Regions from separate parts of the Homo sapiens genome. Here region 2 is linked to region 1. Evidence: promoter capture Hi-C in 16 types of primary human blood cells and fetal thymus (Javierre and others, 2016). All regions are on one chromosome and are shown on one strand. Each heading gives the region's core, a stretch centred on a gene start or on the middle of the fragment in contact. The rest is flanking DNA. Distances are from core to core; before and after follow the strand shown. Region 1 holds the start of ZMAT4 (zinc finger matrin-type 4). Region 2 holds the start of TCIM (transcriptional and immune response regulator).

Region 1 (5,718 bases), core at 1,089-3,588:
TTTGGTCTAAAGTTGTTATTTTAATGATCTCTGTTCCGAATGGGGAAATACAAGAAAGAGGATTGAGGAGGAGGCAGAGGGAAGGAAAGCGAGCGCTCCAGCGTGTCCCACTTGTACTTTCCAAGGCCCCCTCCGCCCCCTCCCCCCACACTGCCTCTTCCCTCTGTGCATGACTCACCCTTCAGGAGCTGTTTCAAATGCCTTACTTTTAATGTTTCCTATCACGATAGAAATCCAACAGATTGGCATCAATTAAAGGGAACCCCCAGTTTTGCAATCCTCAAACTCAAAAGCATTTTCTGGTTTCCTTACTGCCTTCATGAAAACCAAGGTGCTCTCATGCAAGATCCCCCACGTGCTGGGGGCTGCCCCTCCTGGGCTCCCTGGGGGTCACGTGCCCTGGAGAGGCCACAGAGGACGACGTCCATGACTAACCATGCCCACCGGCTGGGAAAAGTTCAGCTTCCGCTCCAGGCCCCCCAAACACAAAAAGATTATAATTGGCAGGGCTGCAAAATTGTTTTGTTTACTGTCAGATAGGAAGTACAGAAGAGAACGCTGATGGTATTTTGACACCCCCCCCAAAAAAAAAGTGGGCAGGCATTTTTTTAACCATTGTGAATAGAGTTTCAATAATCACAGTTCCCACCCAAAATAGCTGCCTACAGGAGGTGGAGGAGAATCTGTTGTGGTGGTTAAAGAAAATAAGAATTAAAAAGTGGAAGGGATTTGTGGAGCTGGAGAATCAAGACTGTCATCTGCATCTCCGTGGAAGGGTGCCCTGAGGAAGAGGTGTCACTGGAGAATCCCTCCCAGAACATGCAGTCTTGTCAGGACTGGGAATCGAACTCCCCAGCTGCGGGTTTAACGGAAATCAGAGGGATGAAAATCATCTAAACTCTTCAATGCCCCTAGGACTTGGAAGATCACCCCCAGACTATCAGCTTCAGAGTATCCCGCAGGTAGGCAGCGCAACTGGTGAAGTGCGGTGGGCACACAAGCAGAAGCTGCCTTCGCAGAAGAGGAAGAAAGTTCGAGACCAAGCACATCGCCTGCTTCCCCATGGGTCCCTGCTTCCTAGTGACTCACCTACCTAATATCTCCCTTTAGCAGAAGCCAAAGGCGGAGGAGGCAGGGGGAGAAAGGAGTTTCCCAAGGGTCTCAGAGCAAGAGAGGCCCCTGAGGTCTCGCGATTTAGAATGCTCAAGGGTGCTTCTGGGCTGAACCAGCTGCCTGCCGGGGTGAGCTGTTTTACTTCAAGAGCAGTTAGCAGAAGCAGTGTGGATGGTGACTTCAGCACCACCTCTGCCACAAATGCACCTGTGCACCAAAACAACCTGCGCACCTACACGGAGCCACCCCCTCCACCAGCCTCCACCTCCCAGAGCTGCGGGGATGCTCCGGGCCAGGCACCCCTTCTGGGGACAAGGGTGTAAGCTTCACATGGTACCAAACCGAACTCTCTATCCCGTTTTTTGGCTTTTTCTTTTTTTTTTTTTTTCAGGATACCCCAAGCCTGGAAAGTCTTCCAGAGTTTTCGGGAGCTAATTAATTATGTGATTTCCTCTCCTCTGAGAACTGTTTTGCTGGCGTGTCACCAAGTTGTCACGTAGGTGCCCACCAGGTCAAACAGAATAGACCATCCTCACCCACCCACCCCGGGGAATGTCTCCTTCCACCAAATAAAATGAACTGAGACAGGCAGGAAGGAGGCAGAAGTTTGAGGAAGGACTCCAGTTGAAGGTCACAATAGTTTGGGGAAGGCAGATCAAGGTAATACGAAGGGGACAGACCCTATAGCGGAAAACACAAACAACCAATCACGTTTCTCTCGGAACCAGCCTATCCATGATGGGTGCACCAGGAAACAGCACACCCTGGGATCCAACTTCTTTCACCCAGCACACCCGAATCTCCACCCCAGCCCTGCAGACACCCTAGCCTGAGACCAGACCTATTTAGACAGACCTGAGCGCAGCTAATTAGGAGTAGTAAACAAGCCCATTTCTTGCCAGCGCAGAAGTTTCCCAAATTGTCCGCTTGTTTTCCTCCCAACAAAAGACAGTGATTTCCCACCTTTATCACATTCCCTCCCAGAAACTTTTCTTTCTGCAATCCCTCCACCTAGGCTAAACTGCAAAGCCACTGGCAATGGAGACGCAGGCGCTGCACCCCCGGGACGCAGGCAGAGGTACCTTTTCCGCGAGGCAGAGGGGCCGCCGGTGCCCAGAGGCCAGCTGCCCTGCCGAGCAGTAGAGCGAAGCTGTGGGCTGGAGCACGCTGAGGATTACACGTTCCTGTCTCTGCGACCAGACCTTTCGGCAGCTCGGACCAACTGTGCTAGCGATGCACTTAGCAATTATCTGCTGGCTCCGACGCCCCGCCCTCTGCTCTTGCGATTGGCTCTCCAGTCCCGGGCAGGACTGCATTGGTTTCAGCCGACCTCACTCATTGCTTTGGCTCCTACTATTATCTAAGCCATCAAAGGAAATAATTCCATGTTTCATTGACAACCTGTAAGGCTCTCCTCCAGCCCAATGTGGGGGCAGGACCGGGAGGCCAGTGGAGAGAGGGGAGAGGAGTAGGAAAATGTGGGGGAGCGGGGTGGGGGAAGGAGGTGGAGGGGAGAGGAAAAGAAGGAGAAACTGTGGGGGGGTAGGAGGGTAGGAGGGAGAGAGAGAGAGAGATGGAGCTATCAAGCAATCAGATTCTTGCTCTAGCATTTTAACTTCCACAAAACAGAGCCCATAGCAACAATTTTCTGGCTTTATTTTCCCCCTAACTGGTAAATGTTGCTGAGGGCAGAGAGAATAATAACTATGGGGTGTCTGCCGGCATGAGACAGACTCTAGAAAGCCGAGCAAGGTTGAGGGCTGAAGGGATGGAGTAATGCTTTTCACAGGGCCACCCTGGAGGACATGTGAAGGACATGGCAGATTGCTTGGGGAGCATAGTAGGTGCATACCTGGAGTTTATCTATCAGTACTTTATCTCACAGTCCCCCTCATCCCCCAACCTGAGGAGACAATTTTCCTTTGCACCCTGTCCAAAGAGTCTCAGAAGAGCTATTCTTAAAATCCATAAAACTCTGGAGTTTCTCACTGTTCTCACTGGGAGGTCCAGAAAGCCGAGCATTCTAGAGTGAATGATTCTGCTGGGACCCTCACTTTGGTTTATTCTGACATGGCTTAAATTAATCGCTTAGACTTTCATCAACAACCTACGCACGTGAAGAGAGAACATACCCATCAAAGGGTGGGGACAGCTTAAACACTTTTCCTTGTTCACCAAGAAATCATAAAGTCTCACCCTAGTTAAAATGGCTTTTATCCAAAAGACAGGCAATAACAAATGCTGGCAAGGATGTGAAGAAAAGAGAATGAACCCTCCTACATTGCTGGTGAGAATGTGAATTAATGCAGCCACTATGGAGAACAGTATTGGGGTTTGTCAGAAAACTAAATATAGAGCTACCATCTGATCCAGCAATCCCACTGCTAGGTATATACCCCCAAAAAAGAAATCAGTATCTTGAAGAGATTCCTGCACTGCCATGTTTATTGCAGCTCTGTTCACAATAGACAAGATCTGGAAGCAATGTAAGTGTCCATCAACAGATAAATTAGATGAAGAAAATGTGGTACATATGCGTAGTGGAGTACTATTCAGCCATAAAAAGGAATGAGATCCTGTCATTTACAACACCATGGATGGAACTGGAGGACATTCTGTTAAATGAAATAAAACAGGCATGGAAAGACAAACTTCACATGTTTTCATTCATTTGTGAGAGCTAAAAATTAAAACAATTGAACTCATGGACAGAGAGAATAGAATGATGGTTACCAGAGGCTAGGAAGGGGCGGGGGTGGAATGGTTACTAGGTACAAAAATAGAGTTAGATAGAATGAATAGGATCTGGTATTTGACAGCACAACAGGGTTATTACAGTCAGCAAAACATATTGTACATTTTAAAATAACTGAAAGAGTACAATTGGATTGTTTGTAACAAAAGGAAATGCTAAATGCTTGAGGTGCCAGATACCCCATTTACCCTAATGTGATTATTACACATTGCATGCCTGTATCAAAATATCTCGTGTACCCCATAAATATATACACCCACTATGTTCCCATAAAATTAAAAATTTTTAAAAATTAAGAAGAAATCATAAAGCACAAATTTTGACCTTCCCCTCTCCTTAATGTATTTGTCACCATATGGAAAAGACATCACTTGGCAGCTAAATTTTCTTAACTAGGTAAAATATTTATTATTAATGTTTCTAAAATGAAAGAGCTTTTATAAATCAATAAGTACAAGACCTATAACCCAATTCAAAAATGGCAAAGGACAAAATGGGCTGAATTTTTTAAGAGAGAATTATAAAAGCGTCTTTTAAAGAAAGCTTTTAAAATATCAAATTTCAGATGATCCAGAAACTAACCCTTCAGCCTTCTTATCCTAGGATCTCCATGTCTTTGGTGAGGCTCTGGTCCCAGTCCTGCCCTGGCCTCCCCTGGGGCCTTGAATGGCTGTAGTCCTTATCTTCAGCTGCGTCCTCTGCAGCAAATGGCAGGTGCCCCACTGCCTTGTATGGTGACTTTCTATTTCATGCATACATGCCTGGCTTCCCTAAATACATTTCAAGCCCTGTAAAGACAGAGATGGTATCATGCATATTTTTATCACTCCACAGATAGCACCTAGCACTCAATAAGTGGGCTGACTACTAAAACCCAATTCAAAGCATCCAGGGTGCACAGCCCTAAGCCTCATGCGACCCTCATTCCACTGCAACTACTCTTCCAGCAGAGCAGAGTGTGGAGGGGGCCCACTCTGGAGTCCAAGAGCTAAAAATTCAGGACTAACCACTGTGAAATGCCTGTGAAATGCGGCAGCTCCAGAGTCACTCGAAGCTCTCTGTGTTCTCTCTGGAAAATGAGGCAGGTCTTCACCCAGTACCTTCCTCCTCCCTCAAGCATTTGAAGGAAATGAAAGGATGTGGGATGCACATTTTACTTGTGAGGCATGACCTCAAAAAATGAAGTCCTTTCCATAATGGCTTTCCAAATATCAGCATGAGTAGGAGACAGTGACCGTATATTAGGAATTCAAAACTAGGGCAAGGGATGTAGCAAAATATTTGTTTTCTATTTCATTCCTTTGTCTAGGTGAAATCACACAAAGGCACAATAATGAAACTAAACTTAGCTATACATTTGAAATTGACACTGTCCTAGAAAATCTGGTGTGTTCAGTCATGGTGTAAAAACCATAAATAACACTTTTATTATTTAAGCAGTATGATTTTTACTTTCGAGTGAAAGTAGGCTTCAGCTTTGTGCCTTCATACTATCTCTTTTTCCACCCCCCTTAAGAAAATAAGAGAAATAAACTAAATTATAAGAACTCTCTTGAGTATCTATCAAAGGTTTAGTTGTCCCTGAAGGAAAGGGAAAACATTTCAAGTGATTTTCTAAAATGCTTTGTCTAAAACAGCATGTCCTTACATGTACTTTTTGCCTTTTGAAGATGAGAGAGAGAGAAAGAAAGAGAGCAAGCCTCAAACAGTTGTTTATGTCAGTGTCTTTTAAACTGCCTGGTCATAAAATATCCTCTTTGAGAGAAGGATTCTCCCTTTGTGTCCCATAGATCAACTGCTTAATTCTGAGAGTTAGAGAATGAATATTAAATATGCAGATTCCACTGGTA
Region 2 (5,718 bases), core at 1,818-4,317, 740 kb before region 1:
TAGTATCAGTCCCTGAAGCGGGCTGATAGCTAAGCACCTGGGAAAATCTTAAAGGGAATTCTGGATCATGCATCACAGCATCCACCATATGAAGGGCTGGCATAAATGGCAATGAAAATAGAGAGAAAGTAGATGGCTTTGGGAACATTTTCTAGATAGAACTGACAGAACTTGGCCATAGATTATGTGTAGGGAGAGAAAGAAAAGGAGTTATTAAGGATCATAGCCAGGTTTATTTTATAACAGAATGAATATGTATAACATATTTTTATATATTTGTATTGATTAGTTAGATGAATAAATGAGTTTAACACTTCAGAGGCCAGGGCTAGGTAGGGATCAAAATTTAGGAGTAATCAATAAGTAGGGTATCAGAAAAAGCATGAGCCCACATAAGAATCACTTCAAGAAAGAACATAGTATAAGAAGGTTGAGGCCAGGCACAGTGGCTCACGCCTGTAATCCCAGCACTTTGGGAGGCCGAGGCGAGTGGATCACCTGAGGTCAGGAGTTCGAGACCAGCCTGCCCAACATGGAGAAACCCCATCTCTACTAAAAAAAAAATACAAAATTAGCTTGGCATGGTGGTTCATGCCTGTAATCCCAGCTACACGGGAGGTTGAGGCAGGAGAGTCACTTGAACCAGGAGGCGGAGGTTGTGGTGAGCAGAGATCACGCCATTGCACTCCAGCCTGGGCAACAAGAGCAAAACTCCGTCTCAAAAAAAAAAAAAAAAAAAAAAAAAAAAAGAACTTTGATAAATCCTTGAGTTATGACAATAATTAAGAGAGGTTTTGTGAATCTCTTGTCCTCTGCTTGGCACATAATAAAAGCTCAGTAAATCCTTGTTGCCATAATAATAATTTTTTTTTAAATTTAGCAAGGGAAACGATGCTGCCACAAAGGTGTGCTATATAGGCCTGTAAATCCATAGACATAGACAGCAGAACAAAGGGCTCTTCTGGAACCCTTGGAAAAACTGGAACACACATGAGCTGCATGGTTGGAGAGTTGACCACTGGCACACCTGGAAATGTCTTTCAAGGAGGCATCCTTCAGAAGAGATCAGCCTGGGCTCCTGTTTGTTATTCATTCCTCGCATCTAATTTTTCAGCAATCGTCTTAGCTTTACCTTCACAATATGCCAGAATTGGATCAGTTCTCACTACCTCCACATTCTCCCTAGTGGAAGCCTTCATCCTCTCTTTCTTGGATTATTGAACATCTCCTGACTAGTCTTCCTGCTCCCCACTCCCTGCTTGCTTCCCTGAAATCTATTCTCTTCTAAGAAGTGTCAGTAAGCTTTTAAAATTATAAGGAAAACCATGCCATTTCTCTGCTCCAAATTCTCCAAAGCCCACCTGTCTCCTAACAGTGTACGAGCTAAATCCACAATCAAAGCCTGTGAGGTTGCACACAGCCTGCTCCTGCCCTCTTTCCACTGCCTACTCGCCCTTACCTCATCTCCTCCCACTCTGCCCTGCTCACTCTGCTCTGACCACACTGGTCCCTGGCTGTTCTCCATACACTCTTTGCACACTCTTTTCTTCAACCTTCTGCACTTGCTTCTCTGGCAGCACCCTTCCTACAGATATCCATATAGCTGACTGCCTCCTTCACCACCTTCAAGTCTTTGCACAATGTCTCATTACAAGAAGCTGTGCCTGAATATCCTAGGAAAATCTCAACCCTCTCCTTCCACTCCTGTACAACTCTGCTTCATTTTTACTCATAATATTCCTTACTCTGACATGATATATATTATAAATGTATGTTTCTATTGTCTATTTCCCAGTAGAACATAAACTTCATTAAGGTAAAAAAGGGATTCTTTGCATGGTTTGGTTAGGTTGGTTTTGTTTGGTTTTCTGTTTCATTTCCAATGCCTCAAAAAGTTCTGGCTAATAACACACCTTTAATAAATATTGATTAAATAAATGAGTGGATAAACGAGTAAGTGAATGAATGAATTAAAATATAAGGAGAGTCTCTAACTTAATTTCCTAGTGAGGTACCTTCCCCACGGTGTCTCCCTTTGCGCATTTTCTAGATCTTACTTGACTAGATAAAAAGAAAAACGAAAAGACCTGTCCTGCTTTCTTAAAGGACTAGAAAGCGGACCAGGCGTAAGATCCACAAAGAGAATCTCCAGGACCCTTTGAAGCTCACATTTAGCATATGACAACTCCATAGGTCAGTGAGGACACTGGCTGGCTTGAATATTGTGGAAGACAGGAAGAACACATTTATATGCTTCCAAAGAAGTTATTGCTCTATGTCTGGGTAATGCCAAAATAAATTTGAAAACAAAAGATCACCTCGTTCATTTTGGGCACTGTGCACGTAAAACACTTGATTAACTTTTCCTGCTGGCTTTTTTGATAGCTATTGTTGTGGATGTATACACAAGCCTAAGGAGATAGCCTCTACTATTCATATTATTACTACACCCAAATTACAATGGTCTTCAGTGACACTTAGCACTTGTACACAATCTCTGAAAAGTCACCGTTTCAAGCTGTGTCATGTCAGCGTTTTGTATGTAAAATCCCATCCTAGAATTGATCACACCCCAAATTATTATCCTTGATTGCTCAGCTTTCTCTCAGTAGCTCTGGAGTTGCCCCTGATATGGATGTCCAAAGGGCACTGATGTGGACTGCCAAATGTTTGCAGTGCACTTTAATTACTTCTCTGCGAACGAAAGCTTTCCTGTAGTTAGCAGAACCCCTTGTTCTAACTGTCGTTTGGGAAGATTTGAGAGTCTAAGCAACCTCGTTTATGTCTTATCTTTGCATTTTCCTGTATTCAGCTATTTTCTTAAAGGAAGGCCCAGGTCTGTATTATCCTACTGCCACATAGGAAGTAAAATGAGTACTCACAGCCTTGCGCCTAATCACTGAACACAGCTTTTAGTAATGTTTTACACAAGAACAGGATATTGGCAACTCAACTGTTAAGCCTTTCTGTGATTATTCTTCCTTGAGATCACTCTGATGTCACCAGTGTAATTTGAGCCTGGAGCTTTTGTTCACACTTTAAATAGCAGTCCCAGAATGATTTCACTACAGACTCTCTGGAAAGCCTGGGAGCTGAATTCCGGAAGATCCCCACATCGATGAAAGCAAAGCGAAGCCACCAAGCCGTCATCATGTCCACGTCGCTACGAGTCAGCCCATCCATCCATGGCTACCACTTCGACACAGCCTCTCGTAAGAAAGCCGTGGGCAACATCTTTGAAAACACAGACCAAGAATCACTAGAAAGGCTCTTCAGAAACTCTGGAGACAAGAAAGCAGAGGAGAGAGCCAAGATCATTTTTGCCATAGATCAAGATGTGGAGGAGAAAACGCGTGCCCTGATGGCCTTGAAGAAGAGGACAAAAGACAAGCTTTTCCAGTTTCTGAAACTGCGGAAATATTCCATCAAAGTTCACTGAAGAGAAGAGGATGGATAAGGACGTTATCCAAGAATGGACATTCAAAGACCAAGTGAGTTTGTGAGATTCTAACAGATGCAGCATTTTGCTGCTACCTTACAAGCTTCTCTTCTGTCAGGACTCCAGAGGCTGGAAAGGGACCGGGACTGGAAAGGGACCAGGACTGAACAGACTGGTTACAAAGACTCCAAACAATTTCATGCCCTGTGCTGTTACAGAGGAGAACAAAATGCTTTCAGCAAGGATTTGAAAACTCTTCCGTCCCTGCAGGAAAGGATTGATGCTGATAGAAGAGCCTGGACAGATGTAATGAGAACTAAAGAAAACAGATGGCTGGAGATGACATTTATCCAGGGTCACTTTGTCAGGCCCTAGGACTTAAATCGAAGTTGAACTTTTTTTTTTTTTTTTAACCAAATAGATAGGGGAAGGGAGGAGGGAGAGGGAGGACAGGGAGAGAAAATACCATGCATAAATTGTTTACTGAATTTTTATATCTGAGTGTTCAAAATATTTCCAAGCCTGAGTATTGTCTATTGGTATAGATTTTTAGAAATCAATAATTGATTATTTATTTGCACTTATTACAATGCCTGAAAAAGTGCACCACATGGATGTTAAGTAGAAATTCAAGAAAGTAAGATGTCTTCAGCAACTCAGTAAAACCTTACGCCACCTTTTGGTTTGTAAAAGGTTTTTTATACATTTCAAACAGGTTGCACAAAAGTTAAAATAATGGGGTCTTTTATAAATCCAAAGTACTGTGAAAACATTTTACATATTTTTTAAATCTTCTGACTAATGCTAAAACGTAATCTAATTAAATTTCATACAGTTACTGCAGTAAGCATTAGGAAGTGAATATGATATACAAAATAGTTTATAAAGACTCTATAGTTTCTATAATTTATTTTACTGGCAAATGTCATGCAACAATAATAAATTATTGTAAACTTTGTGGCTTTTGGTCTGTGATGCTTGGTCTCAAAGGAAAAAATAAGATGGTAAATGTTGATATTTACAAACTTTTCTAAAGATGTGTCTCTAACAATAAAAGTTAATTTTAGAGTAGTTTTATATTAATTACCAAACTTTTTCAAAACAAATTCTTACGTCAAATATCTGGGAAGTTTCTCTGTCCCAATCTTAAAATATAAAATATAGATATAGAAGTTCATAGATTGACTCCTTGGCATTTCTATTTATGTATCCATTAAGGATGAGTTTTAAAAGGCTTTCTCTTCATACTTTTGAAAAATTTCTTCTATGATTACAGTAGCTATGTACATGTGTACATCTATTTTTCCCAAGCAATATGTTTTGGGTTTAGAGTCTGAGTGATGACCAAGATTCTGTGTGTTACTACTGTTTGTTTAATAGGAACAAATATAGAAATAATATTATCTCTTTGCTTATTTCCCGTTAAAACTATAATAAAATGTTTCTAGGACAGCATACGTAAATGCCTGCTATGCTTTCCTAACAAAAATGAAATTTTTCCACAAGTTAAGCATTTTAGAAACACCTAAAGTGTTTTTCAAAATGCTGATCACAGTAAGTCAAAACAAGTGAATTACCTCACATCTGCTGGGAGGGTTACAAGTCAGGATTATAAATACTATGTTTTTAAAAAGAAAATCAAATGGCAAATTCTATTTTCAAATAGTAATTTACTCGTTCACTGAAGATAATGCAAAGCACTTTATTAAAAATGAGTTCTTTCCAAGAGAGCATTCCGGAAGATAACACATTAATATGCAAAATTGTGTGTGTGTGTGTGTGTGTGTGTGTGTGTGCATTTTTCTAAGAGGAATATTGATAATTTTCACGAGATTTGTAGAGACAGCTATAACTCCAAAAAAAGTTATAAACAGAAAAAGGGTTTGCGGAGTAGCAGGAGAATTGGAGGAAGCCTAACCCAGGCTGGGGACATACTAGACAATTCCATAGAAATTTTCCCTGTTTCATTTTCACTGTGCTGTGTTACGGGAGTATGAAAGAGAAGGCTGTAAAGAGGCCCTCGGCTCCATAACCCTACTTTCCCATCCTTATGAACTGAGCTTTCTTAATGTTCACTGCGTGTGCTAGAAATAACTTCCTTCTCCTGATAGGGCCCATCAGTGAAAATCTTTATTTTCTATTCAAAAATTGAAGCACACTTGGATGCTAAATGTAGTTCAAGAGTTAAGTGTATTATACATACTCATAACTATTTACTCTGCCACTGTTGTTTTCAATAGGGTACAAAGTATATCTTCTCCTCTTTTCACATTAGCATG

What was found. Contacts are between HindIII fragments. The CHiCAGO score rates a contact against its expected background, and 5 or more counts as called.
Region 2: the fragment with the promoter of TCIM here is called in contact with the fragment with the promoter of ZMAT4 in region 1 in 4 of 17 cell types (M0 macrophages, erythroblasts, M2 macrophages and 1 more); the score reaches 13.9 in M0 macrophages.

Annotation. Positions count from the first base shown.
Region 1 is chr8:40,895,488-40,901,205 of GRCh38, forward strand. ZMAT4 (zinc finger matrin-type 4) reads right to left here and starts at 2,339. Exons shown (of 7, transcript NM_024645.3): 1 at 2,196-2,339. The HindIII fragment of the contact is 2,974 bases long and covers 1,436-4,409 here.
Region 2 is chr8:40,150,415-40,156,132 of GRCh38, forward strand. TCIM (transcriptional and immune response regulator) reads left to right here and starts at 3,068. Exons shown (of 1, transcript NM_020130.5): 1 at 3,068-4,896. The coding sequence starts at 3,119. The coding sequence ends at 3,439. The region is part of intron 3 of LINC02866 (long intergenic non-protein coding RNA 2866); the gene reads left to right. The HindIII fragment of the contact is 684 bases long and covers 2,706-3,389 here.